3 separate regions of the Homo sapiens genome follow, and all the other regions are linked to region 3. Evidence: promoter capture Hi-C in human tissues and cell types (Jung and others, 2019). All regions are on one chromosome and are shown on one strand. Each heading gives the region's core, a stretch centred on a gene start or on the middle of the fragment in contact. The rest is flanking DNA. Distances are from core to core; before and after follow the strand shown. Region 1 overlaps LINC00840 (long intergenic non-protein coding RNA 840). Region 2 has its middle 160 kb from the start of LINC02659. Region 3 holds the start of CXCL12 (C-X-C motif chemokine ligand 12).

Region 1 (3,781 bases), core at 728-3,227, 500 kb after region 3:
GTAAGGATATAGATTTGAACAAAACTATCAATCAGCTTTAACCTAGTTGACATTGATAGAACACTCTACCTGACAAGCATGCACATCCTTTTCAGGTGTACCTGGAACATTTGCCAAGGCATACTCTTAGCCATAAAGTCTCAGTGAACGTAAAATCATACAAGTCATACAAAGCATGTTCTCTGACCACATGGAACTACTTTAGAAATCAGTAAAATAAAGGTATCTTTTAAAATCCCCAATTATGTAGAAAAAATAAGTAACACACTTCTGAATAACTCAGGGATCAAAGAAGGAATTAAAACAGAAATTAGAAAGTATTTTGAAGTAATTATAAATGAAAATGTAATATATTAAAATTTGTGATATACAGCTAAAGTATAATTTTATAGCACTAAATGCCTATATTAGAAAAGAAAGGTCTCAAATCAATAACCTCAGCTTCCAGTTTAAGAAACTAGTAAAAATATTTCAAAATACATGTTGTATACAATAAATATATACAATTTTTGTCAACGTTTAAAAAATAAATTAGAAAAAATATTTTCTTTTAAAAAATAGTTGTTATTTTTAAAAGAAACTCCAAATAAGCAGAAGACAAGGAATAATAATAAAGATCAGAGTGGATGTCAATAAAACAGAAAAAAGAAAAACAATATAGGAAATTAATGACGTCAAAAGTGGGATCTTTCAGAAGACCAATTAAATTTATAAACCCCCATTCAGACTGATCAGGAAAAAAAAGAGAAGACACAAATTAGTAATATCTGGAAGCAGATCACACATCACAACATATTTCAAGAATCCAAGACAGTGAAGATGGGTCCAAATGCATAAACCCCCCAAAAGTGAGGCTATGTAATGGTGTATCTACACCCAGAATGTGAGAATGGAAAACAATGCATGTTCCCTAGAAAATGATGGTGCACATCTCCATTTGTTGGCCCACAAAGGGGCTCCCAATAGCGTTAAGCTTAAAGAGTAGGTCGAAGAACAGTGGTTTTAGTCCGATGCCAATCAGGAAAAAGTATTGACATCTATTTCAAGAGGCATAAAGAAATACCTGAAAAAATGCTAATCTGAGAGTTAACAATGGCCATCTTAGGCTATTAGGACTCTGGGGATTTTTGGCAATGAGCTTGTTTCATTACACAATAAACAATAAAGCTATTTTTGAAAGTTTTTATTTTCAGATAGAAATTCATGTTATTGAGGGTGTGGGCAGTGTATCGCATACACTGTAGTATTACAACATTTTTGGAATATGATTTGGCAGAAGCTACTAAAAGTTAAAGTATGTATCTGCATTGACCGGGAATCTGATCTTATATAAATAATGGCCTTAGTATGTGAGGACTGCTGCATAAAATTTTGCAACCATGAACTCTAAGGTGCATCATTTTCCCGTTAGTCATCATGGATTTGTATATATTTTATAACAGTTTTCTGGCAGTAAAATGTCTTGGGGGATGCCTTTTTCTAACTGTCACAATTTGGACTAGCAGTGGTGCTCAAATAATGCAGGGATTTTGTTACACAGTTATTTGTGCAGACCAGAAGAAAGAGGAGGAGAAGAGAAAGGAAGGAAAAGGAGAAAAAAGGGGAAAAAAGAAGAAGTAGAGGAAGAGGAAGAAGGAAAAGAGAAAGAAGGAAGGGAAGAGGCTCAGAAAGACCAAGTTACAGAATACTCATATTATGGAATATTATGAAACAATTTTAAAAGAATATACTAGATCTATTTGAATTGACCTACAGTGATGTCCAGGATTTATTTGGGGGGACAGAGGCAAACTGCAAAACAAATGAAATAATAAGTCCTTAATTTTGTTTTGGTGGTTTTTTTTTTTAAGGAAAGAAAACATCCTTTACATTTGCTCATATAAGTTTTATGACAGCTAAGAAAACTGTGGAGGAATACATACCAACAGTTAACTCTCTTCTGTGGGTTTGGGGATGTGGGCATTATGTTTTTTCCTTATTTTTTAAATTGTATGTATTTAAGGAATACAGCATGATGCTTTGATATTACGTATTTATAGTGAAATGGTTACTACAGCCAAGTAGGTTAACATATCCACCAATCATCTCACATAGTTACATTTTCTTTTGTGTGTATGTATGTGACAAGAGCACCTAAAATCTACTCTAGCAAATTTTCAATATACAACAGATTTAACTCTAGTCCATTTGCTGTACATTAGGTCTCTAGACTTACCGTTTCAGATAACCGCAAGTTTATACCCTTTGACCCATATCTCCCCACTTCCCCCACACCTGCTTCCACCTCTGGTAACCACCTTTCTACTCTGTTTCTACGTATTCATGGTTTTTCTTTTTTAGACTCCATATCTAAGTGAGATCATGCCATATTTTTCTTTCTCTGTCTGGCTTATTTCATTTAGCATAATGTCCTCTAGTTTCATCCATATTATCATACATGGCAAGATTTTCTTCTTTTTAAAGGCTGAATAACATTCCATTGTGTATATCTACCACATTTTCTTTATCCAGTTATCCTTTGATTGACACGGCTTGTTTCCATATCTTGACTATTGTGAGTAATGGTGCCATGAACATGGTAGTACAGATATCTTTACAACGTGGTGATTTCATTTGAGTATATACCCAAAAGTGGGATTGCTGGGTCGTATGGAAGTTCTATTTTTATTTTCTTTAGGAACCTCCATACTGTTTTCCATAATGGCTGCACAAATCTACATTCCCACCAACAGGGTACAAGGATTCCCTTCTCTCTGTGCCTTCATCAACACTGGTTATCTCTTGTCATTTTTACAATAGCCATCCTAATAGGTGTAGGATGATACTTCATTGTGGTTTTAATATGCATTTCCCCAATGACTGGTGATGTTGAGTACCTTTTCTTAAACCCGTTGGCCATTTTTTTTGTCTTCTTTGGAGGAATATCTTTTCAGGCCATTTGCCCATTTTTTAATTAGGTTGTTTGTTTTTTTTGCTATTGAGTTGTATGAACTCCATAGGGATTTTAGCCCTTATCTGATATGTGGCTCGCAAATATTTTCTCCCACTCCATTAGTTGCCTTTTCAGTTTGTTAATTGTTTCCTTTGCTGTGCAGAAGACTTTTAGTTTGATGTAGTCTTTACTTGTTTGTTTTTGCTTTTGTTGCCTGTGCTTTTTGGAGTCATATTTTTAAAAAAATCATTGCCAAAGACAATATCAAGGAGCTTTTCCCCTGTGTTTTCTTCCAGGAATTTTATCGTTTCACATCTTACGTTTAGGTCTTTAATCAATTTTGAGTTGATTTTCATGAAGGTGTAAGATAAAGATCCAGTTTCATTCTTTTGCATGTGGACATCCAATTTTCCCAACACCATTTATTGAAGATATTATCTTTTCCCCATCTTGTCTTCTGGGTGGCCTTGTCAAAGATTAGATGACCATGTATACTTGCACTTATTTCTAGACTCTTTGTTCTGTTCCATTGGTATATACAGTATGAGTGTTTTTATACCAATACCATACCGTGTGATTATTACTGCTTTGTAATATAATTTGCAACCCAGAAGTGTAATGCCTCCAACTTTGTTTTTCTTTCTCAAGATAATTTTGGTTATTCAAGGTCTTTTATCATTGCATAAAAATTTAAGAATTTTTTTGATTTCTATAAAAAATGTCATTAAAATTTTTATAGGATTGCATTGAATCTGTATATTGCTTTGAGTAGTATGGACAGGTGGACATGATTTTTTATGTATATATTTCTCTATTGCATAAATTAATACTTTGAATATGTATCACTCT
Region 2 (3,857 bases), core at 224-2,723, 310 kb after region 3:
CACAACTGAAGGAGACAGAGACACAAAAAACCCTTCAAAAAATCAATGAATCCAGGAGCTGGTTTTTTGAAGAGACCGACAAAATTGATAGACCACTAGCAAGACTAATAAAGAAGAAAAGAGAGAAGAATCAAATAGATGCAATAAAAATGATAAAGGGGATATCACCACTGATCCCACAGAAATACAAACTACCATCAGAGAATACTATAAACACCTCTACACAAATAAACTAGAAAATGTAGAAGAAATGGATAAATTCCTCGACACATACACCCTCCCAAGACTAAACCAGGAAGAAGTTGAATCTCTGAATAGACCAATAACAGGTTCTGAAATTGAGGCAATAATTAATAGCCTACCAACCAAAAAAAGTCCAGGACCAGATGGATTCACAGCCAAATTCTACCAGAGGTACAAGGAGGAGCTGGTACCATTCCTTCTGAAACTATTCCAATCAATAGAAAAAGAGGGAATCCTCCCTAACTCATTTTATGAGGCCAGCATCATCGCGATACCAAAGCCTGGCAGAGATACAACAAAAAAAGAGAATTTTAGACCAATACCCCTGATGAACATCGATGCAAAACTCCTCAATAAAATACTGGCAAACCGAATCCAGCAGCACATCAGAAAGCTTATCCACCATGATCAAGTGGGCTTCACCCCTGGGAAATTTTAGAACTAAACAATGCAACAACTGAAATAAAAATTCAGTGAATGGGCACAATGGCAGAATGTAGATGACAAAAGAAAATAAATCAATAAACTTAAAGATAGAGCAATAGCAATTACTCAATCTGAACAACAACGAGGAAACAGACTGAAAAAATTAGCAGAGCCTCATTTACATGTATGAATATAACAAAAGATTTAGCATGTCATCAAAGTCCTAGAAGAAGAGAGGGATCATGGAACTAAAAATGTTTTCAAAAAACAATGCTAAATTAACAAATGTGGCCAAAATAATCTATATATTTAGAGATGCAAGAAGCTAAATGAATTCCAAACGTGATAGATTCAAAGAAATTCACTCGAAGATACACCACAGTCAAACTTCTAAAAACTAAAGACAGATAAAGAATCCTGAAAGCAATAAGAGAAAGACAGCACATTGCCTACATGGGAAAAATAATTTAAATTACAGTAGATTTTTTTTTTTTTTTGAGACGGAGTCTTGCTCTATCGCCCAGCCTGGAGTGCAGTGGCACAGTCTCGGCTCACTTCAAGCTCCACCTCCCAGGCTCACGCCATTCTCCTGCCTCACCCTCCCGAGTAGCTGGCACTACAGTCACCCGCCACCACACCTGGCTAATTTTTTGTATTTTTAGTAGAGATGGGATTTCACTGTGTTAGCCAGGATGTCTCAATCTCCTGACTTCATGATCCACCACCTCGGCCTCCCAAAGTGCTGGGATTACAGGCGTGAGCCACCGCGCCTGGCCTACAGTAGATTTTTTAATCAGAAACCATGGAGGCCCAAGGGAGGGGCAAAACACTGTTCAAGTGATGTAAGAAATAAAACTGTTCACCCCAAATTATATATTCGCCCAAAATATTCCTAAGTAATAAAGGATGAATAAAGCTTCTCTCAAAGGAAAACTAAAAGAAGGGAAATAAAAATTACATTGAAAATGAAAATTAAAATGCAACATATCAAAATTTATGGTATGCAATTATGCAGTTCCAAGACTAAAATTTATAGCATTACATGCTTACATTAGAAAAAAGAAAAAGTCTCAAATCAGTGTTAAATTCTCATCTTAATAAAATCAAAATAAACCCAAAACAAGTAGAAGGAAGGAAACAAAAACAAGAGCAAGAATCAGTGGGATTGAAAACAGAAAAACAGTACAGAACTTCAATGAAAGTAAAAGTTTGTTCTTTGCAAAAGAAAATAGAATTCATTAACTTCTAGCAAAACTTAAAAAGAAAGAAGACATTCCAATATACCAGTACTGGTTTAGTATCCCTTATTCAAAATCCTTAGGACCAGAAGTGTTTTGGATTTGGGACTTTTTCAGAGTTTGAACTATTTGCATTACACTTATAGTTCAACATCCTTAATCTGAAAATGCAAAATCCAAAATGCTCCAATAAGCATTTCCTTTGAGTGTCAAGTCAGTACTCAAAAATTTTCAGATTTTGACGCATTTTGGATTTTGAGTTTTTGGATTACAGATATTCAACCATATCAAAAATGAAAAGATAGCTCTAGACTCTGCAGACATCAAACGAAAAATAAACACTATGAACATACATATGTAAATTTGACAACATAGATAAAATAGACAAATTATTCAAAAAGTACAAAGTACCACAACTCCTCCAATGTAAAATAAATGACTTGAATAATCCTGTAAACAAGTAGGAATGTTGAATTCATAACTATAAACCTCCCATAAGAGAAATATCCAGGCTTAGATGGTTTCACTGGAGAATTCTCCCAAATAGTCTGATATGGTTTGAGTCTGTGTCCCCACCCAAATCTCATGTCAAATTGTAATCTCTAATGTTGGAGGTGGGCTTTGGTGGGAGGTGATTGGATCATGTGGGCAGATTTCCCATTTGGTGCTGTTCTCATGATAGTGAGTGAGTTATTACGTTATCTGTTTATTTAAAAATGTATAGCACCTCCCTCCTCTCTCTCTTCCTCCTGCTCTGGTCATGAAAGACGTGCCTGTTTCCCCTTCACTTTCCGCCATGATTTTAAGTTCCCTGAGGCCTCCACAGCCATGCTTCCTGTACAGCCTGCAGAACCCTGAGCAAATTAAACTTCTTTTCTTTATAAATTACCCAGTTTCAGGCATTTCTTTATAGCAGTGCAAGAAGGGACTAATATGTGATCTAAGAAAAACCACACCAAATCTATACAATCTCTTCCAGAAAAAAAGAGAACATTTTCTAATATATTCCCTGAAGCCAATATTACCCTGATACCACAAAGAAAAAAAATTGCAAATAGAATTTAGCAATATGTGCAAAGAATATACACCATGACCAAGTATGGCTTGTTCCAGGAATGCAAGGCTGGTTAAATATTGAAAAATCGATCAGTGTAATCCACTATATTAATGGATGCTGAAAAAGCATTTGACAGAATTCAACACCCATTTATGACAAAAACTGTCACAAAATAGGGGTAGAGATAAACTTTTTCAACTTAATAAAGAATATCTACAAAACAGCTAACATTGTACTTAATGGTAAAAGACTGAATGTTTTCCCCCTAAGATTGTGAATGAGGCATGGATTCTACTTTCATGTGACACTGCTACTCAACAGAATACTTGAAAGGTTTAGCCAGCACATTAAGGCAAAGAAATGAAACGAAAGTCATACAGATTAAAAAAGAAATAAAACTGTTCCTATTTGTGGATGACATGATAGCCAGTGCAGATTAAAAAAAAAAGACTACCGAAATAAATTCTAGAATAAGTGAGTTCAACAAGATACAGGTTCACAGATACAAGATAAATATTTAAAAATCAATTGTATTTGTATACACTACCAATGAACATATGAAAACCAAAATTTTGAGTGCAATATCGTTGAAACATAAAAAAATACTGAAGTGTAAATCTAAGAAAATATATACAAGACTTTATGCTGAAAACTACCAAATGCTGATGAAATAAATAAAAGAAGACCTAAATAAATGGAGATGCATACTGTATTCGTGGATTAGAAGGCTCAATATGGTGAAGACAAACTCTCTGCTGAATTGATATACAGGTTTATCAAAATTTCATCAAGGTTTTTTTGTAGATATAGACAATTTAGATAGATATAAATAAGATTGTTCTCAAATTTATATAGAAATCTGTATGGAATAGCTAAAACAATTCTGAAAAAAA
Region 3 (3,944 bases), core at 272-2,771:
CTTTAAGAGCAGGGCCAAGTCAGTGGGGTTCCCGGCTCCAAGCCCAGTGCCCAGGGTGGGTGGGTGGGTGGGTGGGTGGGTGGATGGATGGATGGATGGATGGATGGAGTGCCGGCCCACAGCCATCTAACGGCCAAAGTGGTTTTGGAAAAAAAATGCACAGAAGACACCTACTCCCACCAGCGGAGTTCCGGAGCCCTCGCAGCCTCCTGTTGACCGCTCCCGCCTAATGCAGCCGCTGACCGCCCACTCCCCGACGGCCAGGACTCCCCAGGGACAGGGACGTGTCCCCAGGGCAGGCCCCTGGATGGACGCGGCGACTGACCCCACTTCGCTGGACGCTGTGCTGGGAAGGACACAGAGAGGTGGCTGGGGCAGCCTGCGGTCACAAAGCGAGGCCCAAAGGGGCGCTCTCCTCACCCCCACGTCTCCTGGGTGCCGACCTGCACCCTCCCTTCGCCACCGGACTGGGGCCATCTGGGATGTCTCGGGGGTATCCGGAGGGCTAAGCACCGCCGAGGGACGGCTCCGTGGGAAGAGTTTTCTGGACCCAGAAGGCAGACGCCAGTAGTACTGTCCTAGGAGTCGGAGGTCGGGGTGGGGGAGTTCTCAGCTCTTTGGGTCGCACGGAGCTTTTCTTGGGTAAGGCAGTAAGTACTTAGGTTTAAAGGACTTACTTACAGCTACCATTTATTGAGTACTGTCTGCTTGTCAGACACGATGCAGAGAATTTCGCGGCGTGGGGCGGGTCTCATTGAATCTCCCGTCCCACTCCGCGGGGTGGGCCTGTGATTAGCTCATTTCACCATTGAGAGGTCGGAAGTACAAAGGCTACATTCGCTTTTACTGAGAGCCGCCGGCGCCTTCTGCTTTGTTTGTACAGGCGAGGAAACTGAGGCTCGGCTGGTGGCGCCGTGGGCTTGGAGTCCGAGCCACGCTGACTGCAAAGACGGGTCTCATTCCCGCAGATCGAGCTCTGCCGGCGGCTGCGCCGCAAGCCGGGCAGGTGGCGAGCTTGAGCCCCCACGCACAGAAAGCAGGACCCCCTCGGCTGCCTTGGGCCGCCACCGCCAGCAGGCCCTCCGCCCGGGACTAACTTGTTTGCTTTTCATTGGTTCTCATTCAGTTCCCGCCATCGAAAGGCCCCGTCCCGCAGCTTTCCACGCGCGCCCCACTTTACGCCTAAGGTCCTCAGTCTCTCCAGTGGGGCCCTGTCACAGGGACAATAAGCGGCCCTCCAGCCGGCGTCGCTCAGGCTGCGGACCTCACTGCAGACCGGGCCAGCGGTGCGGGGCCCAGCGGAGCCTGAGAAGGTCAAAGGCCGGAGCGCACTGCGCCTCGGGAGCACAGAGGGAGCGGAGGAGGGGCGAAGGGGATGGGTGGGGGGTGCCGCCGAGGGAGTCGCGCGTCAGAGACCCCGGCCACGGCCAGCACTCGGCTCCGGGCCCGCCCCTCACCGCGCGCCCCGCCCCGCCCCGCCTGGCTCTCCCCTCTAAAGCGCCCGGCGCGCGCCTCCCACCGCCGCACTTTCACTCTCCGTCAGCCGCATTGCCCGCTCGGCGTCCGGCCCCCGACCCGCGCTCGTCCGCCCGCCCGCCCGCCCGCCCGCGCCATGAACGCCAAGGTCGTGGTCGTGCTGGTCCTCGTGCTGACCGCGCTCTGCCTCAGCGACGGTAAGTGCGCTCGGCGGGGAGGCCCTGGCGAGGCTCTGGGCTTCGGCTCCCGCCCGGCGCAGAGCCGCGGCTCCTCTGCCTGCGCCCGCAGTTTGCGCCGCCCGACACAGTGGGGGTGGAGGCAGCTCGCTTAGCTGGGCGCTCTGGTGCGGTGTCGCGTTCAAAGCCCTACTTTTGCGCCGAGGGTTTGTGACCTGCAGAGAGCGACCGCCTGACCTCAAGCTGGCTGCAGAGCGAGGTCAGCCGGGACAACTGGGCAGGAACGCCCCAAGAGAGCGTTCGGGACTGGCGCGGGAAGGCGCGAGGGTGGGGAGCCGCGGACCCCAGACCCCTGCCTGCCCACCCTCCACCCACTGCCTTCCCGCTGCGGGCTCGGTTTCCACAGGCGAATGGGCTCCGAGGTCCTGCTGCGCACAGTGCTGGAGGTCGGGCGGTGCATGGCGAGAGCGCGCTTTGCAAAGTTCGCCTCATGCCGCGACTTGAGGCTGTGAGGTCCGATGCAGCCGCGCAGCCTCCGCTCCCTGCGAAGCCGATCCTCTCCCCACACCCTCGCGGGGCTCTTGGCCAGGCGCGGGCGGGCTGCGCGGCGCAGCTGTCGGGCTTGTGCCACCCGCCAGGCCGCGCTTCTGCACAGCTCCGCGGTCCGCAGCGACGCGGACCTGGGCGCGCGTCCAGCCGCTGTCTTCCTGTCTCTTCTCGGGTTCACCTGAGAGAGGCCCAGGGACCCTCCGAGCCTCACACGCCCCCTCCCCAGCTCCCCAAACACACCTGCAGACAGGCTCTTTTGTCACCAGCTGGCCAAGCGCTTTGCCCCAGAATGAGAGCTGCAGCAAAGTTCAATCTCCAAGGCCCTGGGCCACTGGGAACCGTGGTGTCCCGTTTCACTGGGAGAGGGCTTTTTTCTTTTCTTTCGCTGAAGAGAAACTCGCTGCGCTGTCACAGGACACCGATGCAAACCAAAATAAACTGTTGCCTCTGAACACACAAAACAAAACCCTGTGGCTCAGGCCGCTGAGCTTCCTTGGCTGTGAAGTTTCCTGCAAAGAGTTGAAGGACACTCTGAGTGCTCTTGCAGCCGCGGGCTGTGCAGGCCCAGCGCGCCTCGAGCCCTTGGCTGGGTTGGTGCAGACGTGGCCCCGGCGTCCTAGCTGGCTTGGACTGTGCGCTGGTGTGAGCAGGACCAGCGCAGCTGAGTCGGGCTGGAGAAGCTGGGCAGCCTGGGGTCGTGGCGGACTGCCTAAGTGTTAAGGACACAGACTGAAGGCAATTGGGAATGTTCGTCGTTGATGAAAAGTCCCTGAGGCTGTGTCTGCACACTGACCCCCCCCCCCCCCCGCAAGTCATGGGGCATGTTTCTAGTTTTTATTGCTGGATATTCTTCTGTTCCTGTAAGGTCTCTGGTTTGGGCAGTTATTGACTGATTGGTGGGATGAGCGCGGAGGTGTCACAGTGCGCCGCTCTGGGAAATGGTGCTGCCCCCTCCCCGGAGGGCTGGAGAGAGGATTGGAATGAGGAACCTCGGTCTTTGAGTTATGGGTGCAACTGACCTGGGGGAAGCACAGAGACGTGGGGTTCATCCCAGACTCCTCCTGGCCTGGGAAGGGTGACATGGCCCTCAGAGTTGCCCCATTGGCAGCCAAGTAACCAGGGCAGGAGCCTGGGCTCCAGGCAGATCTGCTCCTTACACACATCGCCAGAATGTTTTGTTTTGTTTTGTTTTCCCCTCACCTCACAGTGCCTATGTGCCCCCTATCCCCACACTTAGTCCTCAAGCTGCACTACAGAGAGAGCTTGGCCAGGGGTCCTGCCCCTCCCCCATTGGCTGACTTCCGTCAGGCAGCTGGGCCCTTGGGTTTCCCGGGCTTAAACTCAGGGTGGGCCCCCTTCCCAAGCCTGCTTGGAGGGGCCAGCTGGGCTCCTGTCTCTGCATTAGACTGGAGGGCTTTCTGAAAACTCCTGGAGCCAAGCTCACCCGGTCCCAAATCCGGGGTACCATCAGAGCCAGTCAGGACTCTTGCCGGTACACGGATTTACATCCAGAACGGTTGGGAAAGTTAGTCTTACTGACAAAAAGCTGGAGGAAGGAGCACATGAGGTACACACGAGACCATGTTCTTTTGGTAAGCACACCTGGGGGCTCTGTCACTTTAAAAAGACCTGTTGAAATTCGCTGCTTGACAGGCGGGCCTTAGGTCCTGGGAGTAGAAGCAAGAATTGCTTTTGAAGGAAATGGATAATCCCAGGGGGTGGAGGGGGAGAGGAGAGAGAGCC

What was found. Contacts are between HindIII fragments. The study calls those that stand out against the background at their distance.
Region 1: a contact is called between a fragment that was not itself captured here and the fragment with the promoter of CXCL12 in region 3, in 1 of the 25 tissues and cell types used here (lymphoblastoid cells).
Region 2: a contact is called between a fragment that was not itself captured here and the fragment with the promoter of CXCL12 in region 3, in 2 of the 25 tissues and cell types used here (IMR-90 fibroblasts and aorta).

What each region holds. Positions count from the first base shown.
Region 1 is chr10:43,886,342-43,890,122 of GRCh38, reverse strand. All of the region lies in intron 4 of LINC00840 (long intergenic non-protein coding RNA 840), which reads right to left. Among named protein-coding and RNA genes, the nearest start is that of LINC00841, 21 kb to the left of the region's middle. The HindIII fragment of the contact is 5,785 bases long and covers 1-3,781 here.
Region 2 is chr10:44,073,911-44,077,767 of GRCh38, reverse strand. No RefSeq gene overlaps it. Among named protein-coding and RNA genes, the nearest start is that of LINC02659, 160 kb to the right of the region's middle. The HindIII fragment of the contact is 3,561 bases long and covers 1-3,253 here.
Region 3 is chr10:44,382,674-44,386,617 of GRCh38, reverse strand. It overlaps CXCL12 (C-X-C motif chemokine ligand 12), which reads left to right and starts at 1,521. Exons shown (of 3, transcript NM_199168.4): 1 at 1,521-1,673. The coding sequence starts at 1,613. RefSeq lists enhancers at 1,886-2,577, 2,578-3,271, 3,272-3,944. The HindIII fragment of the contact is 18,967 bases long and covers 1-3,944 here.